2 separate regions of the Homo sapiens genome follow, and region 2 is linked to region 1. The links are contacts of gene promoters, found by promoter capture Hi-C in blood cells and fetal thymus (Javierre and others, 2016). All regions are on one chromosome and are shown on one strand. Each heading gives the region's core, a stretch centred on a gene start or on the middle of the fragment in contact. The rest is flanking DNA. Distances are from core to core; before and after follow the strand shown. Region 1 holds the start of WNT3 (Wnt family member 3). Region 2 overlaps GOSR2 (golgi SNAP receptor complex member 2).

The links. The method cuts DNA at HindIII sites, captures the fragments that hold promoters and counts their contacts. A CHiCAGO score of 5 or more calls a contact.
Region 2: a fragment that was not itself captured here is called in contact with the fragment with the promoter of WNT3 in region 1 in 3 of 17 cell types (M0 macrophages, megakaryocytes and erythroblasts); the score reaches 6.5 in M0 macrophages.

Annotation. Positions count from the first base shown.
Region 1 is chr17:46,815,792-46,820,543 of GRCh38, reverse strand. WNT3 (Wnt family member 3) reads left to right here and starts at 1,852. Exons shown (of 5, transcript NM_030753.5): 1 at 1,852-2,026. The coding sequence starts at 1,947. It also overlaps a transcript of LRRC37A2 not described here. RefSeq lists an enhancer at 210-797. The HindIII fragment of the contact is 21,295 bases long and covers 1-4,752 here.
Region 2 is chr17:46,937,026-46,941,777 of GRCh38, reverse strand. GOSR2 (golgi SNAP receptor complex member 2) reads right to left here. Exons shown (of 6, transcript NM_004287.5): 6 at 1-3,179. The coding sequence ends at 3,018. It also overlaps a transcript of LRRC37A2 not described here. Among named protein-coding and RNA genes, the nearest start is that of GOSR2, 16 kb to the right of the region's middle. The HindIII fragment of the contact is 3,294 bases long and covers 281-3,574 here.

The DNA of each region.
Region 1 (4,752 bases), core at 603-3,102:
CTCCTGGTCAGGTTCACGATTTTTCTTCGCCTTGCAGCTCCTTGGTGCTCTCCGCCTCCCCCCTGCCCCTTTCTTCCTCACACCGGTGGCTCAGCCTCCCCCCGACAGTTTTCTTGGTTTCTGTCTCAGCGTCTCTCTCATCTCTGAGCCCCTCTCTCTCTCTCCTCCTCTCGGATTCTCCTTTTCCTCCCCTTCCTTCCTCTCTTTCAACCTCCCCTCCCACCCCCTCCAGTCCAGCAATGGGCTGGGAACGCAGCAGGAGCCATGACAAGCCCAGGCGGCTCTCCCGACCCTTGGTGCCCCCGAGGCCATTTCCCCGCGCTCCCTGTGCCGGCAGCAGCCGCGTGCGGAGAGGGCTCGCCGACCAGAAGGGGCAGCAGGTTGGAGCTGTGGGTACGGGGGGCTCAGATCAAAGGCCAGGAATGTCTGGCCCCCTGGCGTAAGACTTCCTTCAGCCATGGCCCTCACCTCGTGGAACGCCCGCCGTTCCAGGCCTCTGTGGGACTCGGGTCGGCTCATTCTCTGCCCTTTCTGCCACAGTTCCCTACACAGCGGTCCCTGCTCCCCACCGGCAGTGCTTCCTTCACCCCAGACCGGGGCTGCGCAGAGTCCTGGTGCCTCAGGTGGCCTGGGAGGGGGCCTAGGGAAAGGCACCCAGGTGACCGGGCGTGAGTCCCCAAAACCTGACCATGATGTCAATACCACCCAGGGCTGAGACCTAATTCCTCGCTCTGGAGAGGGAGAGGAGAGGAAGCAAGCCCGAAGGGGGCCTGGAAGGACTCCTTTCCTGTGGGGAGGGGTGGGTAACTGGAGGCATTTGGTGTCCGCACAGGGCAAGGGCCTTTATCGCCAAACCCCAGGCTGGAGCTCCCTATCAGTAGAACCGGGGCCTCAGGCGGGACGGTCGGGCAGTGAGGGGCGCTCCGGAGGGCAGCAAGGTCTTCCAAGGACCTGGGCCGCCCTCGGCCAGAGCTGCGCGTTTCACCGGTCCCTGATGGTCCAACCGAGAATCCCACTGAGGCTGTGGGTCACGCCTCCGACCCGGGCCAGAGGTCGGGCCTGAACCCCTCAAGGAGGAGAAAGTGACCCGACTCCGAGAGCAGGAAATGCGACTGGCCGCTGGTGTCAGTTGCAGGAAATGCAAAGGCAGCAGGAGGTCCCGATACCGATCTGATCCCTGACAAAAGACTCAAATGACACTCGGCTCCGTCCCCCGGCGCCGCCCGCAGCCAGACCTTCGAGCCTCCGCGGACTTTTCCGCACGTTCCTCGGACACCCGGGAAGTGACCTCCCGCGGCCAGGACGAGAGGCCAGAGAGCGGGCGGACTCGGGAGGCTGGAAGCTGGGAGGGGGTGCGTTCCCCCACCCTCTGATCCTGACCTGCCCGAGCGGGGCTTCTGGAAACATCCCTGTGCTTTCTACCCTCGATTCCTCGCGGGCCCACGTCCCAACGGGTCACGGTCCCCGCCAGCAAAGGAGCCACCCGTTCATGCCCACGCCAAGCCCTCGCCATGTGAACGCCCGGGTCAAAGCCCCCGCGCCCTAACCCTGGCCAGCGGGGGACCGCGGCGGTAGCAGAGGGTCCGGCCCACCGCGTCCCCCCGAAGCCCCGCGGCGTCCGGGGCGCGGGCTTTGCCCAAGTTTGCTGGGCGATGCCCTTCCCGGAGCCCGAGTTGTGGGCCGGGCGGGAGGGGCGCGTGATTGACAGGCTGAACTACAGACTCATCTCTTACCTTAGGCCGCGGGCGCTGATTGGCTGCTCGCTGACATCCTCAAACCCGGCTGCTCCGCGCTGGGCTCGGGAGGGGGGCGGCTGCGGGTGGAGGTGCGCTTCTGACAAGCCCGAAAGTCATTTCCAATCTCAAGTGGACTTTGTTCCAACTATTGGGGGCGTCGCTCCCCCTCTTCATGGTCGCGGGCAAACTTCCTCCTCGGCGCCTCTTCTAATGGAGCCCCACCTGCTCGGGCTGCTCCTCGGCCTCCTGCTCGGTGGCACCAGGGTCCTCGCTGGCTACCCAATTTGGTGGTAAGACTCGCCTCTTGTCTGCCCGCGGCCCGGTTTCTCCGCCGCGTCCGGGGAAGGTGGGGGCGCCGGCTGGGGGTGGGCCGCTGCAGGGCTGGGGCTCCTCTCCTCGCCTCCCTCCAGCCCCCCACCCGCCCACCCCTCCTGGATTTTCTGCTGGTGTCGCCTTCAGAATCCAACTCCTGGCTCCTCTGATAATCACCATTTTCCCTGCTCCCCGCTGCAGGGGCTGGAGGACTTTTCCCATCTCAGAAGGTTTCTTATTCTTAGATCCTAACCCTCTGCCCGTCCCAATCTAGAGGCCCCCGAAGACCCCCCATTTGCTTGCAGTTGGGTTTCTGGAAATCCAGCACTGTCCCTGGGGCCCAGCCACTCCTCTTCTCCATTTTGGGGTCTTCATGGGCAAAACCATCCTGTTCCTTCACTGCCACCCCACCTCTGCCGGCGCCTCCATCAAGAGATTCCCCATAATAACCCCCCTTTGCCTTCCTATTTCAGACCCCAAAGGCTTCAGGGCTCCTCCCGGGGCAGGGGAGTGGGTGGGGGGATTTCATCAGATTCTCCCCACCGCTCTAGATTCATCTTGAGCCTCTGAAGTGAATATGGTATTTGCTGATCCGGGATGCCATTGAATTCGGATTTTATTCATTTCTTGCTTGTCCACCCTGGCAAAAGGGGGGTTCCTTGAAAATGTGTTGTCTGGGAGGGGTAGGCTTGTTGTTCTTTGACCAAAAATCCAATTCTCCATGTCACATTTCTTCCTTTTGGAAAACCGAGGACCGAGGAGAAAGGGAGAGGGAAGGGAGAATTCCGTCCCTGAGAAATGTGGATACAAAAGACATTTTAGTAAATAAGACTGGGAAGCCGGGAGCAGTGCTTGGGGGGGGCTGTGCGTGTCTGGGGGGCCTGGGTGAGGAATAAACATCGCTTTGGGAGCCCCAGCTCCAGGAGTCCCCTTGTTTTCCGAGCGGCCCCATCGCCGCTCTCCCACCCTCCGCAGGTCCCAGGGGCCAGAGGGGAAGACACTGAAACCAGTTCTCTAAATTACACTCCGCCTCTCCCCAGTCTCCAGCCCCCTACATTCCGGAAAACTTTAATTAAAGAATCTTCCCCTCCTGGACATAGGAGAGCCTTGGCCTGGGCGGGGGGAGGTGAGGAGGAAGAATTTGGGATCTGTGAGTGAGAAGTGGGCTGTGGCCCCCGGGGTGAAAGTCAGAAAGAAGTGCCACCACGGTGCGGTACCGCCTGCAGGTCCCCAGACTCCCTGCCTTTCGCCAACCCAGAGTCCAGGGTAGGAGGAGCAGAGACAGCGAGACTTGGGGGCCACACCCCGAGTCTTCCAGTTGTTTGGGGATGGCAGCATTTGTGTCTGGGTGTTTGGGGCTCCTGGGAGAGAGGGTGGGGACATGGCCAAGGGTCTCTGTTTAGAGGGTGCTAGGAGTTGCTCCCAGGACAGCCAGCCAAGGGGAAGTCTTTCTTCTGCCCAACCCACACTTTTCCGGGGGGCTGGGCTAACCTGAGGCTTCCAGCACATAAAGAAGTCCATGGGGTGGCCAGGGCAGCCAGGGACTTCAGGAAGGAGGTTCGGCCAGTCTGGGGAAAGGCTGCTGCCAACACCAGTCCAGCCTCACCCGGCCATTCCTGACCCTCTTCCCATTCCCGGGCCAAGGCCATGCCGTTTTTCGCCTTGCTTTCGCAGAGACTCTGGTGGGTTGGGGGAGGGTAGGAAGGAAAGGTTTGGCGGCCCATAGGTGGCAGGGACTGAGGAAGAGAGACCAGTCTCTCCGGCCCTATGAACTAGAAGAGGGCACTCTTCCAGTTGGTGTAGATTCTGGTGTGAAATGGTATCTTGGGGACCATCTAGATAGGGATTGCCCAATAGGAAGAAACGCTGGGGAAACCTGGAAGGTCAAGACATTGGCCCTAACATAATGCTAGACACATGGCTTGTTTGGGAATTTGGTGGGGGACAGGAATGCTGCTTTGTCTAAGCCAAGGAGAGAGGTGTGTGTGTGTGTGTGTGTGTGTGTGTGTGTGTGTGTGTGCGTGTGTTCTGGGTCTATGACCCTAAGAGGTGTTTTCTATACACCAGTGTGTCTCTGTGTGCAAAAGTGTTTGTGCCTGCAACTGGGCTACTATGGATGTGAAATCGTGTGGGCGTGTTGGGGGATCCATGCCCACGACAGGTTGTGCTGTGTGTGTCTGCACACGAGTGTGAGCAAGTGGCTGGTGCTGTGATGTGTGTATGTACATGTGTAAGAGACAGAGAGAAGTCTAGAAGTATCTTTGCCCATGTAAAGGTCAGAGCCTGTGTCTGCCTGTGACGCTGGGCTTGACTGTGTTCATGACTGGGCATGTGAGTGTGTGTGTGCGTGCGTGCGTGTGTGTGAGTGTGTGTGTGTGTGTGTACGTGCGCGCGCATGCCTTCATGACAGTGTGGGGAAAGCCCCACAGATGTCTTTGTGCATGAATATCAGTGCTCATGGCCATGACCTGATTGTGCTTGTAAGGAGGAGAGTGAGCCTCAAGTCCATAGCTGTGTGAGGGCTGTGTCTGAGTCCGCCTGTGATCCTGTCCCCAGGTGCTGGGCCCAGGGCTGTGTGGCTGTGAATATCTTTGCAGACATCTACCTGTGGGTATGAATGACACCTGAGCTTGGGTGTTTGGTGGGCAGCCATGGGCCTGGAGGGAAGGTCCAACAGGAAGCAAAAGTCTCACAAGGTGGCTGC
Region 2 (4,752 bases), core at 678-3,177, 120 kb before region 1:
CCTGTCTCTACTAAAAAATACAAAAAAAAAAAAAAAATTAGCCAGACATGGTGGCACACACTTGTAGTTCCAGCTACTCAGGAGGCTGAGGTATGAGGATCACCTGAACCCAGGAGGCAGAGGATGCAGTGAGCCAAGATTGCGCCACTGCACTCCAGCCTGGGTGACAGAGCGAGACTGTCTCAAAAATAAAAAATAAAATAAAATCACCTTAGAGATTTAAAAAAGGTTCTAATTCAGATCTGGGGTAGGCCCCAGGAATATGTAATTTTAAAAAGCTTCCCCACTGCTTCTGAAGCAGCCAGCCCAGCCCCTGGCCATGGAGCAGTGTTTGAGAATCTCTGGCCTAGAAACATAAAAAAAGGGGGCCATTAGTTATAAAAATGAATATCGAATTCTTTTACAAAATGTGATTTTCTAAATAAAATAAACCTCAACTTTATTCAGCTGATGTGCTTCCAAAACAATGGGTGTAAATCCAAATTTGCAAATCAAACCCATTCAAATTCATCAGGGCAAAGGGTGTACAGAACTCCGCAGTGAAGTCTAAAAAATCAAGACTCCTCTAACTTACTTGGTCTTGGAGTTTGGCTTTTCTTACAGTGGTCCCCCTGAAGTAAATGTCCATGTAATAAAGAGATCTCAAGTTCCTCTTGATAACCCACCTGTTTTAAATCACAATAGGCACACCAAACTCATGTACAAGGTCACAGAGGCTGGCTACCGGAGTTTCTTGCATCAGCTCGACCTAAGAATTCACCCCCGCCTCCACTAGAGGGTGCTCCTTCCCTGGCCTGGACCCTTCCCTACACTGAGGCGGTGGAGAGAGTCACACTGTTAGGCCAAGGTCTATTTTTCACCAGGCACTGAAAGCAGATGTGTGAAGAGAAGTGGTCATGTGACAACATGCAGTCTCAATGCCCCTGGGTGTCCAGACACACTGGCTGCTGTCCACCAGCCGCAGGTGGTAAAGACCCAAAAACCACCTCTGCAATTTTTATTCCAAACTAGAGGACTGGCTCTGAAGGTGCAGCATGAGGGTTCATCAAAGCCAACCACTGTCAAGTGTGGAAAGCACTGGTGCACACCACGAAAAGATGTCCTATCAGTCCACGCATGATGGGTGCGGGGACTTCTGCCTCCCAGAGTTCAAGAACAAATGGCTCAGCTGCTCCCTGCAGACCTTCCTCCAAAGTGTGCTGTCTGGCAGGATCCTTGGGTGCCTGGGGGACAGGACAGCCTTGCCGTCGCAGTCTCAGAATCCATTTTATGGATTACCAAAAGTCCTGCGCTAGGTCCCTGGCACCGCAGCAGTGCTGTGTGTAATGGAAATGTCAATGTGCCTCCCCAGAGTTAGACAGATCTAGGTCTAAAGATGCTGCAACCCCCCAGTCCACCCTCCAGTCACTGCTTTAACTCTGGCAGGGCCCCAACCCATTTTAGGAGTCACAGATTGCTCCTTCCTTGGAAACCTGGGGCCCATTTGGCCCGGAGGGGTAGGAACAATGGAGATCTCCTCCAACCGAAAGTGTGAAATTAGCATCCAGGAAACTCAGTTAATCTATGACAATTAAGAAAACTTACCAAAGGGGAGCTATGCCACAGAGGTGCCTGAAAGGACCAACATGACTACAGAGCAGCGGGGAGGGGAACAAGAGAGGTGAAGAGGAACACAGAAAGGAAGGGAAATAAGACAGAAGACAGTTCAAGCAACAAGAAACTAACAGAGCAGGTAGGGCAGGACAACCAAAGGTAGGGTTAATACTGAGCCGGTTTCCAGATCTGAAGGATTTTGAGTGTCATTTTATGTCTTGCCATGAAGCTGCTGTGCCCAGGGCTGGTAGGCCTGTGGTAAATGAGAACATACACTAACCAGGTCTTTCTGAGACTTTCAGTGATTCACCACATTAGATGGACTTCAGGACAGATTGGCCTTTATACTAAATTCCACAATATACCTGGTATTAGTACAGCCTGAATCCGGGGCTGGTCACAGAAGGAAAAAGGTTGTAGTCCCTGAAAACAGAGTGTTACAAGGACATACACACTACAGATGTCTCCACGGTGGGATCTGCCCACACTGGCTGGGCAAAATGAGGGCCTGGCTGGCAGGTGCTAATATATTTCAGGGAAGAGAAGGGAACCAAAGAATTAGAGATACTAAAACTAGAGCTGAGACTGTAATTGGAAAATCACAAATCTTTGCCTACAGCTACTTTCTAAGGGGCAAAGGCCCACAAAGCCTGGGCGCAGGTGCCAAGCCACAGTCTCTGAACCTTAAAAGCCAACCACTCTATTAACAACTAGAAAAAATCAGTGACTAGGGTCAAGACTGAACACTCCCGGGAAATAACACTGGCCTCACTTTAGAAAAGAGAAACACCCAGCTGTAGTGTGGAAAATCTTACTTGTTATCGGCAATAGCACTACATCTTGTTTCCCCTAGGTAGCTGCTTCCAGGGAATGGTGACAAGTATTGGCAGTCAGTCATCTACATGTCACTGAGGCACAGGGGAGGGTGGCCAGGAGCACGAGGATGTGAATCGACCTACTATTTAATATAATGGCTGTGAGAAAAGGCCTCTTTCCTTTCCTTTCCACTTTTGCTCCACCCTATCAGGAGCCAGAAAGGCCTGATGGTGACAAGGTGTGAACCGTGTGGACAGTCCTGCACACAGGGCTCACTGTGGACACCTTCCCAGGGCACGCATCAGCTATGTGAACAAAGCCACCAAAGCCATTCTTTCCCTCCCCCAGTGAGAGCGAGAGTGAGAGAGACAGACCCGGGACTTCTTTCATTTCCTAAGCACCGCGCATGGTGGTGGCACTAGCTCCCCCTCCAAGATGTCACAGAAAACAGAGCAGGTTGGAAATTAGACCACAATCACTCCCAAGTGTCTTCACAGTTCAGACAGGCAAACATTTCAAAAGGCGGCCTCTGGGCCCCCCTCTCTCTTTCACACACACACACACTTGCAGGCTGTGGGAATGCTGTTCAGCCACTGAGCGTGGCTGGCTCATGTCAGGTACTGCACCACGAGGAACATGACCACACAGGTCAGCAGCATCCCACCTATCATAAAGTACTTGTCCTGGAAAGCCCGCTTCTCGATGAGCCGCATCACTGTGTTGGACAAGCCCAGCATGTTGGCAATGTCAAGGATCTTCTTCTGAGTCCCCTGGGGCAGAAGAGAACAGAAAAAAAAACAAACATCAAGTCGCTTTACCAAGAGTGGGTGAATGGCATCAGGAGATGGAGCTTTGCCAACAGACATTCTCTTGGTCATGCCCAGAATACACAGAAAGCAATATCAGCCAGAAATAGAGCCACTCTCATGTCGTCGACTGATTTTTGATCAAGGTACCAGAGCAACGCTAAGTGGAAAGAAAAGTCTTTTCCACAAATGGTGCTGGAACGACTGACTATATAATATCACAGGTATGTATTTTATATATATGTATCTCTCTTACAGATATGTGTGTAAAAATTGAACCTCAATTCACATTATACATAAAAATTAATTTGAGATGGTTCATAGAATTAAACATAAAAGCTAAAGCCACAATTAAAGCTTCTAGAAAAAAACACAGGAGAATATCTAAAAACTGCAAACAGGCCAGGCGCAGGGACTCATCCCTGTAATCCCAGCACTCTGGGAGGGGTGGGTGGGAGGATTACTTGAGGCCAGGATTTCGAGATCAGCCTGGGCACGTAGTGAAGACCCCTTCTCTACAAAAAAAAATTAGCCAGGTGTGGTGGTGTGCACCTGTGGTTCTAGCTACTTGCGAGGCTAAGGTGACAGAACCACTTGAGCCCAGGAGTTCGAGGCTGCAGTAAGCCAAGATCACACCACTGCACTCCAGCCTGGGTGGCAGAAGGAGGCCCTGTCTCAAAAAATACATAAATAAATACATACTGAAAACAATGGTGTCACTAATCACAAGATGAATGAACAAACTATGGTAAACCTGTACCAATGGAATACTGCTTTGCAATAAAAAGTACCTGACTACCAACATGGAATTAAATAGGTAACAATATGAATGAACCTTGGAAACATACTGGGAGGAAGAAGCCACATAGAAAAGAGTAGCATGAATACCTTTATATGAAGTTCAATAACAAGAAAACCTCATCTATGGTGAAATAAATCACAACAGTGGCTGCCTGGGGCAGAGGGGTCAACTGACTGGGAAGGGGTACGAGGGATCTTTCAGAGGTGAAATGGTCCGGGCCTTGATGGGAGTGTGAGTTACAAAGGCTGATACAATTGCCCAAATTCACTGAATTGTAAAAATATGATCTGTATACCTTACTGTCTGTAAATTATATCTCAACAAAAATACTTAAAATTAGAATATTTTATACTATAAAAAGAAGGCAACATCAAAAAACTTGTCCTCGGCTCTCTAGTTCCAATAATCATTGATACCAACCTATTTACTTTGTAGAGTACAATCTTTGAGGTTTCTTCTGAGTACAATGGGTGGGTCAAGTCCATATTTACAAGAGGGTCTCAAGTGGGAAAGACGGAAAGACACCAACACAATGACCTAAAACCCTTCTATAGATGGCATCACCCACCACCAAAACAAAAGGGCATTTTATTCCTAAACCAACAACCCAAACCATCCAGCCTGTCCTTCCCTACTGCTTTCTAATTTTCAGCTTAAAGCACATTCAATTTCTTAGTAAGAAACAAGTATAAGTGAATGCCGGGGCAGACCCCAAGTCACTCAGCACATATCACC